Regions from separate parts of the Homo sapiens genome. Here all the other regions are linked to region 3. Evidence: promoter capture Hi-C in 16 types of primary human blood cells and fetal thymus (Javierre and others, 2016). All regions are on one chromosome and are shown on one strand. The core of a region is centred on a gene start or on the middle of the fragment in contact, and the rest is flanking DNA. Distances in the headings are between cores, read along the strand shown. Region 1 overlaps ELL (elongation factor for RNA polymerase II). Region 2 overlaps ELL (elongation factor for RNA polymerase II). Region 3 holds the start of COMP (cartilage oligomeric matrix protein).

Region 1 (3,414 bases), core at 676-3,175, 330 kb before region 3:
GTAGAGATGGGGTTTCACCATGTTAGCCAGGATGGTCTCGATCTCCTGACCTCGTAATCCACTTGCCTCGGCCTCCCAAAGTGCTGGGATTACAGGCGTGAGCCACCGCGCCCGGCCCATGGGGAGCATTTTTAACAGTTGAGTAATATCCCACCCCCAAACTGCTGCCAGTTTCTCTGTAGCATAAACAGACATTACTGTGTGCAGTTTTTTTCAGGTTGGCAACAGTTTCCTTCGACGGGATTCCCAGAAGCCAGATTAGTAGGTCAAAGGCTGAATATTTTTATGGCTCATGACAGGCTTTGCTAAATATTACTCAGCCGTCAACACCCCTCCCCTTGAAGGATAGGCTTGCGGGTTTCCCTGGGGCTCAGCCAGTCCTAGAGGTGGACACCTTCCATCTCTGCTCTAGATTTTTCCACAGAGGGAGGGCCAAGCACCTTTGAGGCATGCAGTTTTGTCACTGCCATTCCTCAGCATGTCTGAGGGCCTGTGAGGGGCTGGAAATGACCAGTCTGGGTGAGGCACATCCCCCTCCTCTTCTACAAGCCAACAGTGTCCTGCTGACCCCCACAGCTGCTTGGGGGGAAGCAGCTGCATAATGAATATAGAAGCAAGAAGCAGACGAGCTGTCCAGGGGAAGTCACAGTGGCACAGGAAGGGACAATCTGCCTGCAGATGCTGGCCAGGCCTGCTCCCAGGAGGCACTGAACCAAAGTCACCTGGAGAAGCCAGGCACCAGCACAGACACCTCCTGGCCAGGCCAATGCAGGTCCCACATCTGATGACTCCATCGAGCTCCCTTCAGCAACTCCTGCTGGCACCATGCCAGCCCTAGCCTTGGGAGCAGGATGGGGGTGGACGAGGGCCAGGCTGACATCCTCCCAAGGAATGTGGAACAGGGTCCCACCAGCCGCGCACCCGAGAGGGACGCCTATGAGGAGCTCCGTAAACATGGAAGAACGTCCTTTATACAGCTGCTATCCCGGCATGCCACAGCATGTGCTTTTTGCTGCAGGCATCACCTGTGTTCCTGAGGTGCTGGATGTGACCCCGAACATCCCACTTCCATCATCCTAAAAGGTGCAAGAGGCTCAGCCATGTCTCTTCCTCCACCACAGCAGCGATCCGAGGAGACCCATCCTCAGTTCACCTCAAGGCTGCATCTGCATAGCCTGGCTAATGTTCTGAAGCCAGTGCGAGTCACTCCCCTTCCCAGGGACCCCAGGAAGCCAAGGTGGAGCCTCAGGAACCTCCATGGGTGAGGGGGGTGGAAGGCAGTCAGGGCCATCGCACCTGCTCCAATGCCCGGGGTGTTTCTCAAGAGCAGGCTCCACTCGCCAGCACCACATTCCAGATGGCCTAGCCTCCAACCCCAGGGAGGGGCACTGCAGGTCACAGATGGAAGCCTGATGGTCTGAGACGTGAAGCCCCTCACCCGGAGGCGCAGGTGGAGGGCGGCAGGCAGCTGATTCACACTGAGGCCTGCCAGGCTCTGCCAGGCACGTGTAGATTCCTTCCCCAGGCCTTGAGTCCACAAATCGTCTGCAACTGAAGCCTGAATCCACTGTGCCAGGCCCCACGGCCCGTGTGTCAGCAGACAGTGAAGGAGGGCCTGGGCTCCATGCTGAGTCCACCTCTCAACCCTGGACAGTCGGGGCCATGCCCAGAAACGCATCCATGGCCCCCTAAGCTTGTTCTAATCCAGGAGGCCCTGGCTCTCAGGCAGGTTCTGAACCTGTGAGAGACCCCAGGAAGGGCTCTTCCTTGCCAGTCCCAATCCCAGTCTCCATGCTCTGGCCCATCCCACCCGCACAAGACCATCTGCGGAGACCACTGGTAAAGACAAGACATCGGGGCGGCACCCACCTGCTGGAGGAGGCCATCCAGCGCGTCCTTGTCCGCCTGCGTCAGGCCGTCCTTCTGCAGTCGCAGCAGCAGCTCAGCCTTGCGGTAGGGCCGTAGTGCCAGGAGGTGCAGCACTCGGTCACGGAAGGGCCTCTGGGACACCCCGCTGCCCCCACTCACGGCACTGGCACCACTCTTCCTGATGGCACTCGCCAAGTTGATGGGGGTTGCCCGCTTCCGGGAGGGCACCGCGTCTGTTGCACCTGGGGCTGGTTTCCGAAACTGAACCTTCTTGCCTGCAACAAGAATCCAAGCTTTAGGGAACAGAGAGGGCGCTGCCGTGTCCTAAGCCAGTGCTGCTGACCAGGTGCCCAGAGGTTTGAGACTATAGACAGTGCTGGTGGGAGGCACCACACCAACCACAGCAAAAGCCAGCTTGCTCCTTGGGGACCCTGGGCGACCAAGAGCGCCACCTGCTGCCCAAGGCAGGCACCTGCAGGGCACCCAGCCTCAGAAGTGGGAGGTGCAGGCGGCAGAACTGTGTTAGAGCCTTACTTACTTCATCACAGGCAACCTAAATCCTGGACAGCAAAATCACCTGATCACTCTCACTCTGGTGGGCAGTGTGTGTGTGTGTGTGTGTGTGTGTGTGTGTGTGTGTGTGTATGTAATCACCTGATCACTCTGGTGGGCAGTATGTGTGTGTGAGAAATCACCTGATCACTCTGGTGGGCAATGTGTGTGTGCGTGTATGAAATCACCTGATCACTCTAGTGGGCTGTGTGTGTGTGTGTGTGTGTGTGTGTGTTTGGGCGGGGGGCGGGGGGGGAAGGATTGTTTTGTTTTTTGAGACAGGATCCTGCTCTGTCACCCAGGCTGGAGTGTAATACAATCATGGCTCATTGCAGCCCCAAACTTCTGGGCTCAAGCGATCCTCCCACCTCAGCCTCTGGAGTAGCTGGGACCACAGGTGTGCACCACCATGCCTGGCTAATTTATATTATTTGTAGAGATGGGGTCTCACTATGCTGCCCAGACTGGTCTCAAACTCATGGGCCCAAAGGACCCTCCCACCTCAGCTTTCCAAAGTGCTGGTATTATAAACCAGAGCCATCCTGCCCAACCTGAGGCAGGGGCTGTTTGTAAACCCTTCTGATGTTAAACTGGGGGTCCCTGAACTGCAAGAGGCAGTCACTCCCAAGCCTGCACTTCAGAGTCCTATGCTGGCCCCATGTGGCTGCCATTTTTGTTTTTCTAAAGTCAGTAAAGATGTCGGAGCCACTTTCAGCAGCTGCTCTGAAGACCCTGAGGTGCAAGTGGCACCCCAGCCTTAGGCCTGGTCAAGCTCTCCTCTGGCAGGCGTGGCTGTGCCCAGAGCCCTGGGGAGAGCAGGTTCCCCTCTATCCCCAACGCAGAGACGTGGGCAGGGTCCAGCACGCTGCTCCCCTGCTCTGTCCTGAACAATGATGCCCCGGCATCCTTGGGAACAGGGTCGGCCGAGCAAGCTCAACAGTGCCTCAAATCCTTCCCCCAAAAGCTCTTCGTAACAACATCACTCTGATCTTA
Region 2 (3,794 bases), core at 118-2,617, 280 kb before region 3:
CTGACTCCATGCGGCAGCTGCTCCCAACTCCACAAGGGACACACAAGCCAGCCCTTCCCATCCAGGCTGCACATGACTGTGTTTTGTTTCAAAGGTCACATACAGGTCACAAATAAAGAGGCCGGTTCCCACTGGAGGCTATGTCAGGATTGATGCAGTCCCTGAGAAAAACTCCCGGAAAACCCAGGGACTCCCATGCGGGCTGAGAAACATTTTGAGTTTGCATGAGATCAAAATAGGAGTCACAGCTGAGTGTGGTGGCTCACGCCTATAGCACTTTGGGAGGCCAAGGCGGGAGGATCACTTGAGGCCAGGAGTTAACAGACTGCAGTGAGCTATGATCACACCACTCCACTCCAGCCTGGACAGCACAGCAAGACCCTCTCTCTAAAAAATAAAAACAAAAATAGAATAAAATAAAATACAATACAAGAGTCAGCAGCCAGGAGGGTAGCCTGTCCCAGAGTGGATGCCCTCAGGTTCAAGGTTTGACATCATCTGCACTAACTGTGTGATCTCAAGTTAGCCATTATCTTCTAGATGTCCCATTAGTGAAATAAAGGGGCCAGAACAAAAGGACCCTCCAAAGTCTCAACTGGCCCTGGCCAACAGCAAGGCTTCACAGGGCTGCCTGGCACTGCACAGGGGCCTGGGAGCCCAAGGCCCGAGCCTGGCCCCACGACAGTGGTTCCATTAACACACCAACTCTTCCTGCCACACACCCAGCTGGACACCCTAGACCAGCGGCCAGCAAGCTTCTTTTATGAAGGGCCAAAGAGTTGGTATTTCAGGCTTTGTGAGCTAGACAGTTGCAGCCTTGGCTGCCGTCACAGGGCAAGAGCAGCCATAAATTACAGGTAAGCAAGTGGGCAGCTGTGTCCCTATAAAACTTTATTTACAAAGACAGGTGGCAGGCCAGACCCAGCCCTTTGGCCACAGTTTACCAACACGCTATAGTCTCTAGGGTTGCTGCTGAAAAAGATCACACTACAGCCCACTCTGTCCGCGTCCTAACAAGGCAGCAAGCCTTGTTGTGGGGATAAGCAACTATAGCAGTGACCCTGGGCAGAGCCTATAGGCCTCAGTTTCCTTGAGGACACAAAAAGAGACCCTGTGAGTCACCTCTACCACTAATTCCATGGGGAAATGGAGCAAACATGAGGTGGACGCAGCCCAGGTTCCCCTCAAGATCTCGGGAATAATATTTCAGAGTAGCCGTGAGCAGGAGGCACCCACCAGGGCCCTTCCCCACAGCAGCCAGGTTGGAGGTCCTGTGAACCAGGCGCCCTGATGCAATCCAGCAGGCATCCTTATCACAGTGCCCACTGAGACCCTAAGGTCACTCCCTCCAGGTGTAGGGGCTACAAGATCCACAGCAGGAAGCTCATTGTACCCCGAAAAGTCACTGTTTTCAGAAAGGAAAAAGGAACTTCCCAACCCAGCTTACCCTCCTCAGGCCTGTGGGAGGAGACAAGGCCACCCCAAGCCCTTTGGGTTCCTGGTGGGGAGTCACCCTTCCGAAAGAAGGGCAATGTGATGGGGTGGCCGCCCCCACCCGGCCCCTTGGCCCACAGGCCCCCACTAATCAGCCTACCCTGGATAGAGGGGCCCAACCTAAGGTCTCCAGGGTGAACACAGATGGAGACACAGGCCAATGCACGTGCGCGCGCGCGCACATACACACACACACACACACACACACACACACACACACACACACACACACACACACACACACTCCCCTCCCCAACTGGAGGCCTGGGGCTCCTCCTGGAAGTAGGTGGATTCCACCTGCCCACAGGATCCTAAGAAAACTCTGCTCCTCCTCTTCCCTCCCACCCACCTTCAGCAAATGCCTCAGGGCTAGGCCAAGGGCAGCAGCTGGACCCCCCCGCCCAGCCAGTGCCCCCCAGTGGGCTGTCCCTGACCTGCAGGACCTCCAGGCCACTTCTCACCTGGAAGAGACCTCATTTTCCACAAAAGCTTAATCCAAAAAGGGCTAAAAATAGAGATTCTGCACCCATCTGAGCTCTTTGCCTGAGAAGGGCCCTGAAGCCTCAGTACCTGCAGGGCTCAGAAGTCCTGCCACTGAGAGGCTCAACCACCCTGGCCAACCTCACCCAAGGCCCTTCCTAACCCTCACTGCTTACAGAAACCCATGTCCCAGCTGGGCACGATGGCTCACGCCTGTAATCCCAGCACTTTGGGAGGCCAAGGTGGGTGGATCACTTGAGGCCAGGAGTTTGAGGCCAGCCTGGCCAGCATGGTGAAACCCCGTCTCTACTAAAAACACAAAAAACTTAGCTGGGCATTGTGGCGCAAGCCTGTAATCCCAGCTAATTTGGAGGCTGAGGCACGAGAATTGCTTGAACCTGGGAGGTGGAGGTTGCAGTGAGCCAAGAATCACACCACTGCACACTCCAGCCTGGGTGACAGAGTGAGACTCGGTCTCAAAACAAAAAGAGAAACCTGCATCCCAACACAGGCCGGGCAACCGCACACTGGCTATGCAGAAGCAGGGCACGTAGCCACTGTCATCTCCACTCAGCCCCAGCTTCCCTCACTGCAGAGCCACACCGGGCTCTCCCTGTCCCTTTCTCTCACCTGAGCCCAGGTGATCCTGCTCGAGACCTTCCTCTGTCACCTGTGACCAGGTGACTCCTGGGTCCATCCAGGGGCATCAGAGGCCCTGCAGGTCCTAGCTCTCACAGGACAGTCACATACATGAGGGCATTTAAATGGCTCCAAGACCACCCCACACCCATTAAGATGGCTACCATCAAAAAATAACCAGTTCGGGCAAGGACGTGGCGAAACCACAACCCTTGTGCACGGCTGGTGGGAATGTAAAATGCTGCAGCCGCTGTGGAAAACAATCTGGCAAATCCTCAAAAAATTAAACACAGAATGACCAAATGAGGCCGGGAGCAGTGTCTCACACCTCTAATCCCAGCACTTTGGGAGGCCGAGGTGGACAGATAACCTGAGGTCAGGAGTTCAAGACCAGCATGGCCAACATGGTGAAACCCCGTCTCTACTAAAAATATAAAAATTAGCTACGCATGGGCCGGGTGCGGTGGCTCATGCCTGTAATCCCAGCACTTTGGGAGGCTGAGGCGGGCAGATCATGAGGTCAGGAGATCGAGACCATCCTGGTTAACATGGTGAAACCCCATCTCTACTAAAAATATAAAAAATTAGCCAGGCATGGTGGTGGGCGCCTGTAGTCCCAGCTACTCGGGAGGCTGAGGTAGGAGAATGGCATGAACCCGGGAGGTAGAGCTTGCAGTGAGCTGAGATAGCACCACTGCACTCCAGCCTGGGTGACAGAGCGAAACTCCGTCTCAAAAAAAAAAAAAATTAACTTGGCGTGGTGGTGGGCGCCTGTAATCCCAGCTACTTGGGAGGCTGAGGCAGGAGAATTGCTTCAACCTGGGAGGCAGAGGTTGCAGTGAGTCAAGATCACGTCACTGCACTCCAGCCTCGGCGATCCAACAGGTCTACTTCTGGGTATGTATCCAAAAGAACTGAAAGCAGGGGTTTGAACAGATACTTACATGCCCTGTTCACAGTAGCATGGTTCACTACAGTCAAGAGGTGGAAGCAACCCAAATGCCCATGGACAGAGGAATGGATGAGCACGATGTGGTCCATCCACACCACAGGACATCAGTCTGGTTCCCTGCCCACTGCCCACCACCCACCATACCACCGGAGGGGGCCTGATGGAGAAGGTGGAAGTACAGGGGGCCCCAGCTCCCTCTGACAGTGCTGTGGGCTTTCCAGTGGGAAAA
Region 3 (3,612 bases), core at 1-2,500:
GCGCGCAGTGGAGCAGGGGCCGCACGCTGGGTAGGCCGGTGCGTACTGACTGCTGCATCCCTGCGGGGGGGAGGGGGGAGAAGCGGCGGGGCTGATCGGTGGCTCGCCCGGGGGCAGAGCCTATCATGGCCACGCCCCGGGGCTGGAGGCTTCCCCTTCCCCCCCACCCCCCGCCCCGGGGCGGCCCGAAATCCTGCGCTGTCCGCGATCCCGCCCCAGAGGCTGCGCGCTCTGACCGCGGGGTCTCCCCGGTCTCTTCTCTGAGTCTCTGTCCCGCTTTTCTGCCCCGTGGCGTCTCTCACTTCCCCAAAACTCTCTCACCGCTTCTGTCTCTTTTTGTCTCTGTTTCTACACACCCCATCCCATTCCCGTTCGTCCGTCCACCTCTCCGTCAGCCTCCATCTCCTTCCGTCTCTTTTCCTCCCCAGCTTTCCCTGGCTCTCTGTCTCTGTCTCTGTGTCTCTGTCTCCCGTCTCTTCTCTCTCCCGACCGCCCCGCCGCGCTCACCGCACGCGTCACACTCCATCACCGTGTTTTTCAGGAACGTGATCTCCCTGACCTGCAGGGGTGGGATGGAATCAGCGGGGTCCCAACCTCTCCTCATCCCTCGGGTCTCCCCTCTCTCTACCCCGGGGTCCCTTTCTACAGCCTCTTTTCGCCAAGGACTCCCTACCCGCCGACCCCCTTCCCTCCCCATCTCCTCTCCACCTTCTCGGGTACTTCCTCTCTCCTCGCTGGGAACTGAGACCCCCTTCCGTTCCCTGGCACTCCCTGCCCCGCACCCGGGCCCCGCACCTGCTGCCGCAGCAGCTCCCGCACGTCCTGCAGCGCCGCGTTGGTTTCCTGCAGTTCCCGAAGCATCTGCGGGCCCAGGTCTGAGCCTGCGGCGGCAGGGGACCTGGTGAGGCGTCATGGGGCCGGGGAATCCCACCACCAACTCCCACCGTTGCAGCGAACCCGGACCTCCGAGGCCCCACTGCGCTCCTCTAGTCTCGGTCCCGCCACCTGCTTTCTGCGCCCGGCACGTCCCCTACGAACAGTCCGTGAGCCCCAAACAGCCTGGATCCCGGGCCTCTCACGGGTCCTACAGTCCGTTGTGGGGCCGTGGGCACGGCGCGGGTGCTAACGCGGCTTACCCAACGGGCTCTGGCCCTGTCCGGACGCGCCGAGGGCAGCCAGGGTGAGCAGAAGAACGCAGGCGGTGTCGGGGACCATGGCGGTGGCGGGGAGCTGGGTGGCTGCTCGCTTTCTACCGCCCACGAGGCCCGCGGGGCCTATTTATCCCCAAGGCACGGCCGGCCCCAGGGACGGCCCACCACAGCCCTGCCCAACGTCCAGCCTCAAGGTAAACAGATGGCGCTGGCCCCTGCGTTCAAGTCCCCGCCCGGAATGCCCCGCGAAGTCGCCCGCGGCTGAATCCGACATGGTGGGGAAACTGAGTCCCGGGGTCTGTGGAGAGAGCTGGTGGGGCAGGGAGTCAGGGGGTACTGCCCCCACTTTCATTCACTGTGTGTGTGCGTCTGTGTGTGTGTGTGTGTGTGTGTGTGACGGGGTGTGGCTGTATCGCATCCTCTTGCTTCAGTCTCCCATGTAGCTGGGACTACAAGCCCGCACCACCAAGTCCAGCTAATTTATTTTTATTTTTATTTTTATTTTTAGAGACCGGGTCTGGCTATGTCCTGCAGGCTAGTAGTCTCAAACTCCCGGCCTCAAGCGATACTCCCCACATAACTGGGATTACAGGATCCAGCCATAGCATTCAGCTCATTGATTGATTGATTGATTGAGTGCTTGCTGTATGCCAAACCTGAGTTCCAGTTCCAAACAAGGCAGGCTCCATGGCCACGCTCTCAGCTCACACTTCGGGAAACAGAGTCACCAGCGTCTGAAAAAATAGGTCCACCCACTATGGATCAGACTGACTGGCCCTCCACTCCTCCTGAAGTGCTTCAAAACTGGGTAAGTTGCTGGGTGCGGTGGCTCACACCTGTAATCCCAGCACTTTGGGAAGCCAAGGCGGGCAGATCACCTGAGGTCAGGAGTTTGAGACCAGCCTGGCTAACATGGTGAAACCCCATCTCTACTAAAAGTACAAAAATTACCCAGGCGTAATTCCTCCCTTGCACAATGGAGGTAATAAGTTAATAATTATTAATTAATGATTAATAGTAATGATGATTATGATGATGAATGGAAAATAGGGGAGGGGCAGTTGAGACCTGGGACTCTCAATTTTCCTGCCTCTGTCCAAGGAGGCCGCTTCTGGCCCCAACGCTGGAGGGCTGCAAATGACTCCCCCCAACCCAACTCATTGCTGGTGTTCCCTCCCCTCCCCATGGTCCCTCGGCTGGTGGAGGAGGGGACAGCGTTCAGGATCTTGCCCCAACCCCTGTCCAAGGGGACAGGCCCACTTGGTTTTCCAATCTGCGCAATGGGGTGTGAGGCCCCCATCTGGAGGGGAGCAAGTTAAAGGGCTCTAGCAAGGGGAGGTCCGGGGCTTCTGTTTGTCCAGGCTGTGCCATACCTTCCAAACTGTGCTCCAGCTGCTGTGGGAACAGCCTGTAATAAAAATAAAAGTTACCGCTAACTGGCCAGCCACACTCTGGAGTTACAAAACCCCTTAACCTCCTGCAATCAGTTAACACTCTCCACTCCCACCTTCCAGTACTCACAGCGTCTATTCTATAGACAGAGAAACTGAGGCCCAGAGAGAAAAAGTGACTGGCCTAAGGCCACTGCCCGAGGGCAGGGGTGAATCTAGACTCAGAGCCAGATATGTTTTCTGGGGAGCCTACAGAGAAGTCACCGAGGGCTTCCTGGAGGAGGTAGCAAGGAGACAGACATAAAAGAAAAGGAGGACTTGGATCAGCAGAGGGAAAAGGTGAGGGCAGTTTTGGTGGAGGGAAGCATGTGAAGCTTGGAGGTGGGGACATTTCTAGACACAATAATTATTTCACAAACATCAAGGACTGTTGTGTGTCATGTCTCCTGTGCTGGGTGATGGGCACACAGGGTGAAGAAGCCAGACCCAGTCTCTCCTTCAAATGGGGAGCCCAGTGGGCTCATGGCTGTGACGGGACACACAGACAATGGTAGGAGTCCCCAGGAAATTGATCTGTTTGAAAGGGGATGGGTCAGGGCGGGCTTCTGGAGGAGGAGGGACCACCAAGCTGAGGACCGGATGATGAGGAGGACACAGCCAGGCAGAGGTAGCAGAAAGTCATTCCAGGTAGAGGAAACAGCATAGGCAAAGGCCCTGAGGCAGGAACCAACCTGGCCCGTTGGATGGACTGACCTCAAGGTGACAAGCTCTTGGGGCTCAGTGAGAAGCAGGAGATGAGGCTGTGTGTGAAAGGGCAGTGCTGGTGGTGTGGGGCTCCAGTGGTCTCCCGAGGGTAATGGGGAGCCACAGAGAGTGCGTGAAGAGAGACAGGCCTATAAGTGGAGTGTTGGTGGAAGCAGCTGGTCCCAGCCAGAGCATTTCCAATGAAGCCTGTCCTCAATAGTGCCTGCCCTGCCTGCTGCCTACATTGGGGCCATGAGCTCACCTCCTGTTTTCCTTGGCCTTCAGCACACCTGGGGGCCGCTCCTGGCAGCACTGGAATTCTCGGG

What was found. The method cuts DNA at HindIII sites, captures the fragments that hold promoters and counts their contacts. A CHiCAGO score of 5 or more calls a contact.
Region 1: a fragment that was not itself captured here is called in contact with the fragment with the promoter of COMP in region 3 in 1 of 17 cell types (erythroblasts); the score reaches 5.4 in erythroblasts.
Region 2: a fragment that was not itself captured here is called in contact with the fragment with the promoter of COMP in region 3 in 1 of 17 cell types (erythroblasts); the score reaches 5.2 in erythroblasts.

What each region holds. Positions count from the first base shown.
Region 1 is chr19:18,459,709-18,463,122 of GRCh38, forward strand. ELL (elongation factor for RNA polymerase II) reads right to left here. Exons shown (of 12, transcript NM_006532.4): 5 at 1,870-2,144. Among named protein-coding and RNA genes, the nearest start is that of ISYNA1, 23 kb to the left of the region's middle. RefSeq lists an enhancer at 2,376-2,435. The HindIII fragment of the contact is 469 bases long and covers 1,692-2,160 here.
Region 2 is chr19:18,507,921-18,511,714 of GRCh38, forward strand. The region is part of intron 1 of ELL (elongation factor for RNA polymerase II); the gene reads right to left. Among named protein-coding and RNA genes, the nearest start is that of ELL, 12 kb to the right of the region's middle. RefSeq lists an enhancer at 1-342. The HindIII fragment of the contact is 1,228 bases long and covers 754-1,981 here.
Region 3 is chr19:18,790,055-18,793,666 of GRCh38, forward strand. It overlaps COMP (cartilage oligomeric matrix protein), which reads right to left and starts at 1,251. Exons shown (of 19, transcript NM_000095.3): 1 at 1,137-1,251; 2 at 796-881; 3 at 508-559; 4 at 1-60. The coding sequence starts at 1,215. RefSeq lists enhancers at 1-410, 411-991, 992-1,570. The HindIII fragment of the contact is 6,208 bases long and covers 1-2,914 here.